2 separate regions of the Homo sapiens genome follow, and region 2 is linked to region 1. Evidence: promoter capture Hi-C in human tissues and cell types (Jung and others, 2019). All regions are on one chromosome and are shown on one strand. Each heading gives the region's core, a stretch centred on a gene start or on the middle of the fragment in contact. The rest is flanking DNA. Distances are from core to core; before and after follow the strand shown.

Region 1 (5,079 bases), core at 1,503-4,002:
GGTACGGAAGTCCTTGGTAAGGCTTTTATCCTTAATGAAAAGCAGCCCCAAATTGTTTTTTAACAAAGAGCAGCCTATAAAGTTGAGCTGCAGATATAAACAAGCAAGCTGGGAGCTTGCACAGGTGAATGCCGGCAGGAGCTAGGGACTATATGTGTTCAAGATGGTGGCTCTGTCTTCCTTTCTCTTTGTCGACCACCATACAATGTATTAAAGAGCAGTCAAGATAGTGCTGATCAACTGGAGAGTCCATTTACATAATAAGATTAGGGTGGGGCAGCCAGTCTTCCTCGCGGGCTATGTAAATGTCATACCTGATGGTACCAATCTATGAGGTCTGCGTAAATCAGACACCACCTTTTCCAGCCTGCCTATAAAATCTGCTGCGGTCCGCCGCCTCCCGTTTTGGACTTCTCTCTCTCTCCTTTCTTCTATTAAGTTTTCTACTTCTTAACCCACCCACGTGTGTCTGTGTCCTGAATTCTTTCTCATTGTGAGACAAGGAACCCCAGCATAAATACTCTAGACAATGTAGCTGTTAAAGTAGCATAGCCTAGCCTACCTAAAACGTGCTGAGAACACTTGCATTAGCCTACAGTTGGGCAAAATCACCTAACACAAAGCCTAGTTTGTGACAAAGTGTTGAATCTCATAGAATTTATTGAATACTGTACTGAATTTGAAAAACAGAATAGTTGTTTGAATACTCAAAGTACAGTTTCTGCTGAATGCATTCTCTCTTTTGAGCCATCTTATGATAAATCTACATCAAATTATTGTTATGTTAGGGAAGGAAACTGCCTTTGCAGAACTGACAGTAACAGAAATGTGACATGGTTGACTTCATCTTGCTTCTGACCTCCAAGCTGTCCTTGGTTATTCCTGGGCATAGGCCAAGCTAACTTTGGGAGGAATTCAATTTATAGTTTAATTTGAAAGTAAAGATTATAATAGTCCCTCCCTAAAACTAACCCCCTCCTTTCTCAGGGACCAAAATCGCCTTTGTAAGACTAATGAAAGGCCACAGGAATAGGATAATGGGAGAAGGCAGAACTCTGCTAAAATGTAGGCATAGTTTCTATAGTCCCTTAATGCCCAGGGGTCATGTGGCCAGAGTTCACAAGATCTGTGACTTTCCCAATTGCTCCTGTAAGTAACATCACTATTGTAGAACTTAAGATTGGGGTGTTTGTTTGTTTGTTTGTTTTTGTATTTTTAGTAGAGACGGGGTTTCACCATCTTGGCCAGGCTGGTCTCGAACTCCTGATCTTGTGATCCACCCACCTGGGCCTCCCAAAGTGCTGGGATTACAGGCGTGAGCCACCGCGCCCAGCCAAGATTGAGTTTTTTAAGATGTTTTTCAGACTGACCTCACTCAGACTCATGACTCATGACTCAACAGGTCCTGGGGCCCCACCCAGAGGCAGACTCAGTGCATGAGGACTGCTTTCCACACCGGTATGATTTCATCCCCAACCAATCAGCGGCACTATCCCCCTACCCCCTGACAACCAAATTGTCCATAAAAACCCTTGTTCCGAGCCTACAGGGAGACTGATCTGAGGGATAACTCCAGTTCTCCCACGTGGGCTCAGCCTCGCGGCAGTTAAACTCTTTCTCTATTGCAATGCCATGGTCTCAGTGAATTGATTTTTGTCTGTGCAGTGGGGAAGAAGAACTTGTTGGGTGGCTCCAGAACCATCTGTATAATGATGAATAAGACAAAGTCCCTACTCTCATGGAGGAGACAGATAATAAAGAAAAGAAAAAAAAAGGATTTGGTCATTGTAAGTGCTATGAAGAATTTAAATAGGCTAAAGGGATAGGTGGAGAATAGAAGTTGCATTTTTTCTTTCCCTCCAGATAGAGTCTCACTCTGTCACCCAGGCTGGAGTGCAGTGGTGCGATCTTGGCTCACTGCAACCTCCACCTCTGGGTTCAGGCAGTTCTCCTGCCTTAGCCTCCTAAATAGCTGGGATAGCAGGCACCTGCCACCACGCCCGGCTAATTTTTGTCTTTTTAGTAGAGAGGGGGTTTTACCATGTTCGCCAGGCTGGTCTTGAACTCCTAACCTCAAGTAATCCACCCACCTCGGCCTCCCAAAGTGCTGGGATCACAGGCATGAGTCACTGTGCCCGACCTGAAAGTTGCTATTTTAGGTGTGATGAGCAGCACAACATCTTTCCTGAGGAGGTGACATTTGAGATGTGACTTGAATTGTGAGGAGTAATGTGTCATGCAAAAATACAGGGAAGTCATATTGTAGTCAAAGGCAATAGCAAAAAAAAGTCTTTGGGGTTAAAATAAGTCTGACACATTCAAGAAAGTTCAGAAAGGCATACATACCTGTGTTAGAGTAGGTAGCTAGGGGAACATGAGAAGGGCAGCAGAGGGCATTCCACCCCCACCCCCAACCAGGAATGTCAGGCGACCATCATGTGATGGTCAGGTGGTTGTTACACTGTTTCTCTAAAATCATCATTGGTTGCAGCCAGCACCAGGGAAAGGCCGGCTCCCAATAGATAGAAAACACCTGAAGCTAGTGTCAGCCGCTTCCTGATAAGATCTCAGGAGTTGGGCAAGTGGGCTCAAGCATGGGCCCTAAGGGGCAAAATGTCAGAGTTTAACTAATATATGACCTTCCTCTAGGAATTCTCGACTGGCAAGGGAAAAATGCCTCAAATGAGCACGCGCACAACTTCAGTAAACACACTGTGAGTGCGGCCACTCCCAAGTGCTGGCAGACCACTGCATAAGTGGACAGCCTGCTCCAAGGGAAGGATCAGGAGAGAAGAAACGCAAATCCCAGAACCGTGCCAACATATAAAACCCCACATTAAGGGTTGTACAGTGCACTGGGATTTCTCAAGTCACCCGCTTGGTCCTCTTCCAAGTATACTTTACTTCCTTTCATTCCTCTCTAAAACTTTTTTAAAAACTTTCACTCCTGCTCTAAAAGTTATCTTGGTTTCTTACTCTACCTTATGCCCCTTGGGCGAATTTTTTCCTCTGAGGAGGGAAGAATAGAGTTGCTGCTGCAGACACATCAGATTCCCTACTGGTAACAGCTGGAGTGCGGTAAGTAAGGAGGAGAGGGCTGGAAAATGAAGTTGGCTCTGATTCCCATTACTTGAAAATACAGGGTAGGAAAACCCTATCTTCTTAGGTTCAGTGGCTGGGGAGCACCATCACTCAAGGTGAGAACTGCCTGGCTGAGCCCAGCCAACTCACAGAACTGTATGAGGTATTTTCATCTACTGTGCTAGGCACCTAGTGAGAGCCCTTTTGCGTCTTTCAACTTTGGAAAAAATTATGATTTATTTTTATTTTTTAAATTAATTTTATTTTTTTTTTTTATGTTTTTAGAGATAGGTTCTTACTCTGTCATCCAAGCCAGAGTGCGGTGGCATGATCATGGCTCACTGTAGCCCAGAACTACTGGGCTCAAGTGATTCTCCTGCCTCAGCTTCCCAAGCAGCTGGTACCACAAGCACATGCCAGCATGTGCAGCATGGGAAATATTTTTATGTTACCACCTCGACACTTTCTTCCTTCTACTTTTCTGTGTCATGTCTGCATCTCCCGTCACTTAGATAGGGACCTCACAGTTTGATTCTCCAGACCTTTAATATTTTTTCATATTTTAAATATTTCTTTAATTCTGTTTTTTGAGATATTTTATTAAATTTACCTTCAACCTTCTGTGGATTTTTTTTTTTAGACAGGGTCTTGCTCTACTGCCCAGGCTGGAGTGCAGTGGCATAATGATGGTTCATTGCAGCCTCGACCTCCCGGGCTAACGCAATCCTCCCACCAGGAGCAATCCTCTCAAGTAGTTGGAACTACAGGTGCATGCCACTAAATTCAGCTAATATTTTTTATTTTTTATAGAGATGGGGGTCTCGCCGTGTTGGCCAGGCTGGTCTCAAACCCCTAGGCTCAAGTGATCCTCCTGCCTCAGCCTCCCAAAGTGCTGGGATTATAGGTATGAGCCACCAAACACTGCCAGAATTTTAAATATCAGGATATAGGAAAGGTTTTGCTTTCGTTTTCAATTTTGTTTTTGTCTTATGGCACGGGGCCAGGCAGGGCAAAGGGTAGATTCCATTGACACTTATTTTTAATTTTCTGCCCAAGTACGTTCCCACCATTGTTCCTGGTGTTTCAGACCCTCTCCAGGGTCTGCAGAGTCTTGTTTGGCTGGAGCCCCTTCTACTCTAGTCTAATGCCCCTCTGCCCTAATTCCTCAACTACCAGGCCGTCACTGCTTTCCATTACCCACAACCATGGAGAAAGCTCTCATCAGCTAATGTGCCTTCTCCAGTTTGCCACATTATTACATTATTGTCTGGACATACCTGTTTTTTTGTTGTTGTTGTTTGTTTGTTTGTTTTTGAGACAGGGACTCGCTGTGTTACCCAGGCTGGAGTGTAGTGTTGCCTTCTCGGCTCACTGCAACCTCTGCCTCCCAGGTTCACTCGATTCTCCTGCCTCAGCCCCCTGAGTAGCTGGGATTACAGGCACCTGCCACCACGCCCAGCTAATTTTTGTATTTTTAGTAGAGATGATTTTGCCATATTGGCCAGGCTGGTTTCAAACTCCTGACCTCAAGTGATCCACCTGTCTCAGCCTCCCAAAGTACTGGAATTACAGGTATGAGCCACTACGCCTCATCTGGACCTACTTGTTTTTAAAAATGCCTTTGTTATCATTTTAATGAAGTCTCTTAAAGGAAAGGAGTTGCATTTGTGTGTTCTGTCTTCTTCAGTAAAGAGAGGGCTTTTATTTATTTATTTTATGTATGGAGATAAATGAACCTTAAACATTGTATATTTTTATTTTTATAAATCCACCTGTTTACTGTCATTTCAAACATTACTTTAAATTTATTTTCCCCTCAGAGCTTTTAAATAATCAGGAGCTCTAAGCATTGCCTGGGAAATGTTTTGTTTTCTTTGCGCTGTCCGCCACATGCTAGTGATTTTCAGCAAGGTTGTGTTTACGTGTATTTCAACTGGGCAAATAGGAACTAATATGAAATAAAATAACATTAATCAAACCTGACTTTATGAGCAAGTT
Region 2 (5,079 bases), core at 916-3,415, 70 kb before region 1:
TTACACAGTCACAATGGATATGAACACATCTGCCCAAAATCACACTTCTGAATGGAAAGCTAGGGATGGGGACAAAAACGAGCTTGAATGTGGCAGGGAAACAGGGATAAGAGAAAACTAAATCCTTATCTTCCACAGAGAGAAGCCCGGAAATAATGGAGAAAACTAACAGAAAAAGAAAAAAAATGCAAGTGTTACAATTATATAAGCATGTTGCTTAAAGACAGGGAGATGAAAAACCAAAAGAATTAGTTAAAATGTTTCAAGATGACTGCCTTAGGGGAACAGGAAATGGGACAGGGGGGTTGGGGGATTGCTTTTTCCAAAACAAACTTTATTGCAACTTGACATTTAATGAGCATGTGGAATTCTGATAAAAATAAAAAACTTAAAAAATCATAGCCAGAAAAGTTCATCCTCATTTATACACACATACTGGAGAGTCCCTACTGACTAACAAGAAGCTAAGCTGTTAGCTATAAGCCCCTTTCCTTTATCTAAGTTCTCATTGCAACTGCTGTTATATACAAGGTAAAAATAACCAGAAGAGTAAATATGGAAAATGACTCCATAAAAAGATGATGTGGCTGGGCCCAGTGGCTCAACGCCTGTAATCCCAGCACTTTGGGAGGCCAAGGCAGGCGGATCATGAGGTCAGGAGTTCCAGACCAACCTGGCCAATATGGTGAAACCCCGTCTCTACTAAAAATACAAAAATTAGCAGGGCATGGTGGCATGCGCCTGTAGTCCCAGCTACTCAGGAGGCTGAGGCAGAAGAATCACTTGAACCTGGGAGGCGGAGGTTTCAGTGAGCAGAGATCGCGCCACTGCACTCCAGCCTGGGAGACTAAACAAGATTCTGTCTCAAAAAAAAAAAAAAAAGATGATGTATAATGAATTACAAAGAGACGCAATTCAGGAAACATTTGATGCCACGTAAAATGCAAAAATCACATAACTACTTTATTTTGCAATGTTAATGAATCCCCTTTTATAAAGGCAATATGCTTAGAATAGTGCTTTCCATGTAACAGGCACCAAATACAATTTAGATTCTTTTTTCTTTAACCAATCGAAATCACCCTTTTCTGATCACAGATTAAGCCAATCAACTTCAAACTTATGAATAGAATCCTGTCCATAATCCAATAAATTGCTAATTGAAGACAAATGACTTCTGCCTTAGAAGATACCTTCTCTTTATAACCACGAAAACTGAAAGAGGACAGCACAGGATACTCTGTCATTCTATTCTTTGTGTAATGACACAGTGTCAGCAAACCAGACCCCATTTTTCTCATCCTCTGCCAATCCAACGGCCAGCTGGACTTCTGGGTCGGGGCGGGGGTGGGGGGGACGTGAAGAACTTTTCTTACAAGAGGATTGTAAAATGCACCAATCAGCTCTCTGTAGCTAGGATTGTAAAACGCCCCAATCGGCGCTCTGTAGCTAGCTAGAGGATTGTAAAACGCACCAATCAGTGCTCTGTGGCTAGAGGTTTGTAAAATGGACCAATCAGCACTCTATAAAATGGACCAATCAGCACTCTATAAAATGGACCAATCAGCACTCTGTAAAATGGACCAATCAGCAGGACATGGGCAGGGACAAATAAGGGAATAAAAGCTGGCCACCCTACCCAGCAGTGGCAACCCACTAGGGTCCCCTTCCACACTGTGGAAGGTTTGTTCTTTCACACTTCACAATAAATCTTGCTGCTGCTCATTCTTTGGGTCTGCGTCACATTTAAGAGCTGTAACACTCACTGCGAAGGTCTGCGGCTTCATTCTTGAAGTGAGCGAGACCAAGAACCCACCAGAAGGAACCAACTCCAGATACACCAGCACTTTGGGGGGCTGAAGCGGGCAGATCACCTGAGGTCAGGAGTTCGAGACCAGCTTGGCCAACATGGTGAAACCCATCTCTACTAAAAATATCAAAAAAATTAGCCAGGTGTGGTGGTGCACGCCTGTAATCCCAGCTAGTCGGGAGGCTGAGGCAGGAGAATCGCTTGAACACGGGAGGCAGAGGTTGCAGTGAGCCGAGATAGCACCACTGCACTCCAGCCTGGGCGACAGCAAGACTCCATCTCAAAAAAAAAGCTCCTAATCAAGTATCAGTGAACCTTTGGGAGTCTGCGATCATTCTAAAATTAACACGCAAAATGTGCTGGGCATGGTGGCTCACGCCTGAAATCCCAGCACTTTGAGGTGGGTAGATCACGAGTTCGAGAGTAGCGCGGCCAACATGGTGAAACCCCGTCTCTACTAAAAACACAAAAATTAACCAGGCCTAGCGGTGGGCATCTGTAGTCCCGGATACTCAGGTGGCTAAGGCAAGAGCACTGCTAGAACCCAGGAGGCGGACACTGCAGTGAGCTGAGATCACACCACTGCACTCCAGCCTGGGTGACACAGCAAGACTCAGTCTCGGTGGGGAGGATATGCAAAATGTTACATATTTTTGTCTACATCCCTTTGGGCAGGAGGCCAGCTCTCATCGACTTCTCAAAATGGTTTGCAACCCAAAAACAAGTTAAGAGCAACCAAGGGAGACAGCTTTGAGGACCAAACAAAAAAACTAATGGACAAAAAACTGTTTAATTTTTTAATTTTTCATTTCTTAAAGTAAAACTGTCTTTTAATTTTATGAGTATATATACACATTGAAATTGGGGGCAAATACATGCTTCAAAATGTTAACGCACTTTTCACATTTTCTATCAAAAAAAAAGGTTCAGGTGCAGTAGTAGCTCACACCTATAATCCCAGCACTTTGGGAGGCTGAGGCAGGAGGCTCCTTTGAGCCTAGAAGTTGGAGATCAGCCTAGGAAACATGGCGAGATCAGCCTAGGAAACATGGTGAGATCTGCCTAGGAAACATGGCAAGACCCCTTTTCTATAAAAAAAAATGTAATTTGCCAGGCCTGGTGGTGTGTACCTACAGTCCCAGCTACTTGGGAGGCTGAGGTGGGAGGATTACTTGAGCCTGGCAGGCAGGCTGCAGTGAGCCATGGTTGTGCTACTGCATTCCAGCCTGAGCAAGACCCTGTCTCAAAAAAAAAAAGAAAAAAGAAGAAAAAGATGATGATGACCTTATAACCAGAATAAGAGAGAAGATTTTTCTATGTTAGGGTGAGGTGAGAAGGTACATGGAAAATCCAAAAGATTATGAAAAAATCCAACGAAGACTTTGTAGGAAAATAGACTTTGGTTTAAGTTTCCCATTTAAGAAAACTGGACTCTGGGCCAGGTGCAGTGGCTCACGCCTGTAATATCAGCACTTTGGGAGGCTGAGGCAGGTGGATCATGAGGTCAGGAGTTCAAGACCAGCCTGGCCAACATAGTGAAACCCCATCTCTACTAAAAATACAAAAAATTAGCCGGGCGTGGTGGCAGGCACCTGTAATCCCAGCTACTCGGGAGGCTGAGGCAGGAGAATCACTTGAACCCAGGAGGCAGAGGTTGCAGTGAGCCGAGATCGCGCCATTGCACTCCAGCCCAGGCGACAGTGCGAGACTCCGTCTCTTTAAAAAAAAAAAAAAAAAACTGGACTCTAAGTGTAAGTGGCAGATTAAATTTAAGCCCTCTTCCTTCCAATTAATTTTTTTTTCAACTTTTATTTTAGATTCAGGGGGTATAGGTACAGGCTGGTGACCTGGATATATTGCATGATGCTGAGGTTTGCAATATGGATGATCCCACCACCCAGGTACTGATCGTCATACCAAGTTGGTTTTTCAACCCTTAGCTCACGCCCTCCCTCCTCCTCTAGTAGTCTCCAGCTTCTACTTTTGCCATCTTTATGTCTGAGTACCCAAGGTTTAGCTCCCACTTATAAGTGAGTGAGGTGGGAAATTAAAGAAAAATAAAATTAAAAAGAAAGATAAATAAGCTTTCCTGTATTAGGCCGACTTGTCCCAGAGGCAGCAACAGGCACGGCCCAGACCCAGGAAAAGCCTTGATAATATTATCTAGTGTGCTCTGGAGATTCTCCCAGCACTCAACATGCAGAGAAGAAAAAATAAATTTTCCTTTGTTTTACGGAATGAGTTCATAGATTCCTGTTCTCTGTAACTAGTGACTTCAAGTATTGTTTTATCTGAGAAGTACAATGAATGTCATGAGAAGCCTGAGTAGGCCTGAACTGCAGCTGCCTGGGCACCATAGTGAAGATTATGGGATAAGCCCAGGCAAACCTAGATAACGGACATCTGGGTTGCTTGGCAACGGTCATGTGCAATCCTGAGTTTGTCCTGCCTCTGTATCCCTGCTTTCACGCCACTGTAAGCTTGCTTCAAGCTAGCCCACCCCCTTCTGTGAACTGTGTATAAAAGTCTTTGTTCCGGGCCCAGTCTTTTAGACGTTGAGTCAGCTGGGCCTAAGTGCACTCAATAAAGTTTCTCCTGTTTTAACCCGAGGTCTCTCTTGTCCTCCTGAATCCCACAACATGAGAACGTGAACCTACCAAGTAATTTATAGGAGCCTGTAGCATTGCTTGAACACAAGCACTGTGTCAAGCAATACACCAGAATGCAGAAAATTCTAAGCTAAGTCCTATAATATTTAATATCCAAAAGTAATGTGAATATTTACCAACATTTTCCCAATATTTCATGGCATTCATTGACAAGATTGCTAAATTAAGAGGGTATTTTTTTCACATATTTATATCTGAACCAATCAAACAATATTACTAAAACCTACTGATCAGCACATAAATACAGCATCAGTATGAAGAAAAGACATAACTCATTTACTTTTCCTTTTAAAGGACATCTACCTAGAGCGGAAATAAACATTAAAAAAGCACAAGAGACTACTAAAATATTATACACAATCTTCATACTATAAATCCTCTTTCTACTAATTAAAATTCTTACCTTATTGTGTACTGAGGACAACATGTTTGATTCATGACAGGTTTGTACACATATTTTCCACTTCTAAAATTATAAAAATAGTTTGTTAATGTCTTATATATTTTTCACTTGCACCAAAACAGCCTAGCACAGGAGCATTAAATTAAGGTTAAAAATCTAATCAACATTGTAGAAATGCATGTAGGTTTAATTACTCT

Evidence for each region. Contacts are between HindIII fragments. The study calls those that stand out against the background at their distance.
Region 2: a fragment that was not itself captured here is called in contact with the fragment with the promoter of TACC2 in region 1 in 4 of the 25 tissues and cell types used here (heart left ventricle, liver, pancreas and 1 more).

The regions. Positions count from the first base shown.
Region 1 is chr10:121,986,411-121,991,489 of GRCh38, forward strand. TACC2 (transforming acidic coiled-coil containing protein 2) reads left to right here and starts at 2,753. Exons shown (of 23, transcript NM_206862.4): 1 at 2,753-3,078. The HindIII fragment of the contact is 30,860 bases long and covers 1-5,079 here.
Region 2 is chr10:121,917,467-121,922,545 of GRCh38, forward strand. ATE1 (arginyltransferase 1) reads right to left here. Exons shown (of 12, transcript NM_001001976.3): 3 at 4,883-4,945. Among named protein-coding and RNA genes, the nearest start is that of ATE1, 8.0 kb to the right of the region's middle. The HindIII fragment of the contact is 7,719 bases long and covers 1-5,079 here.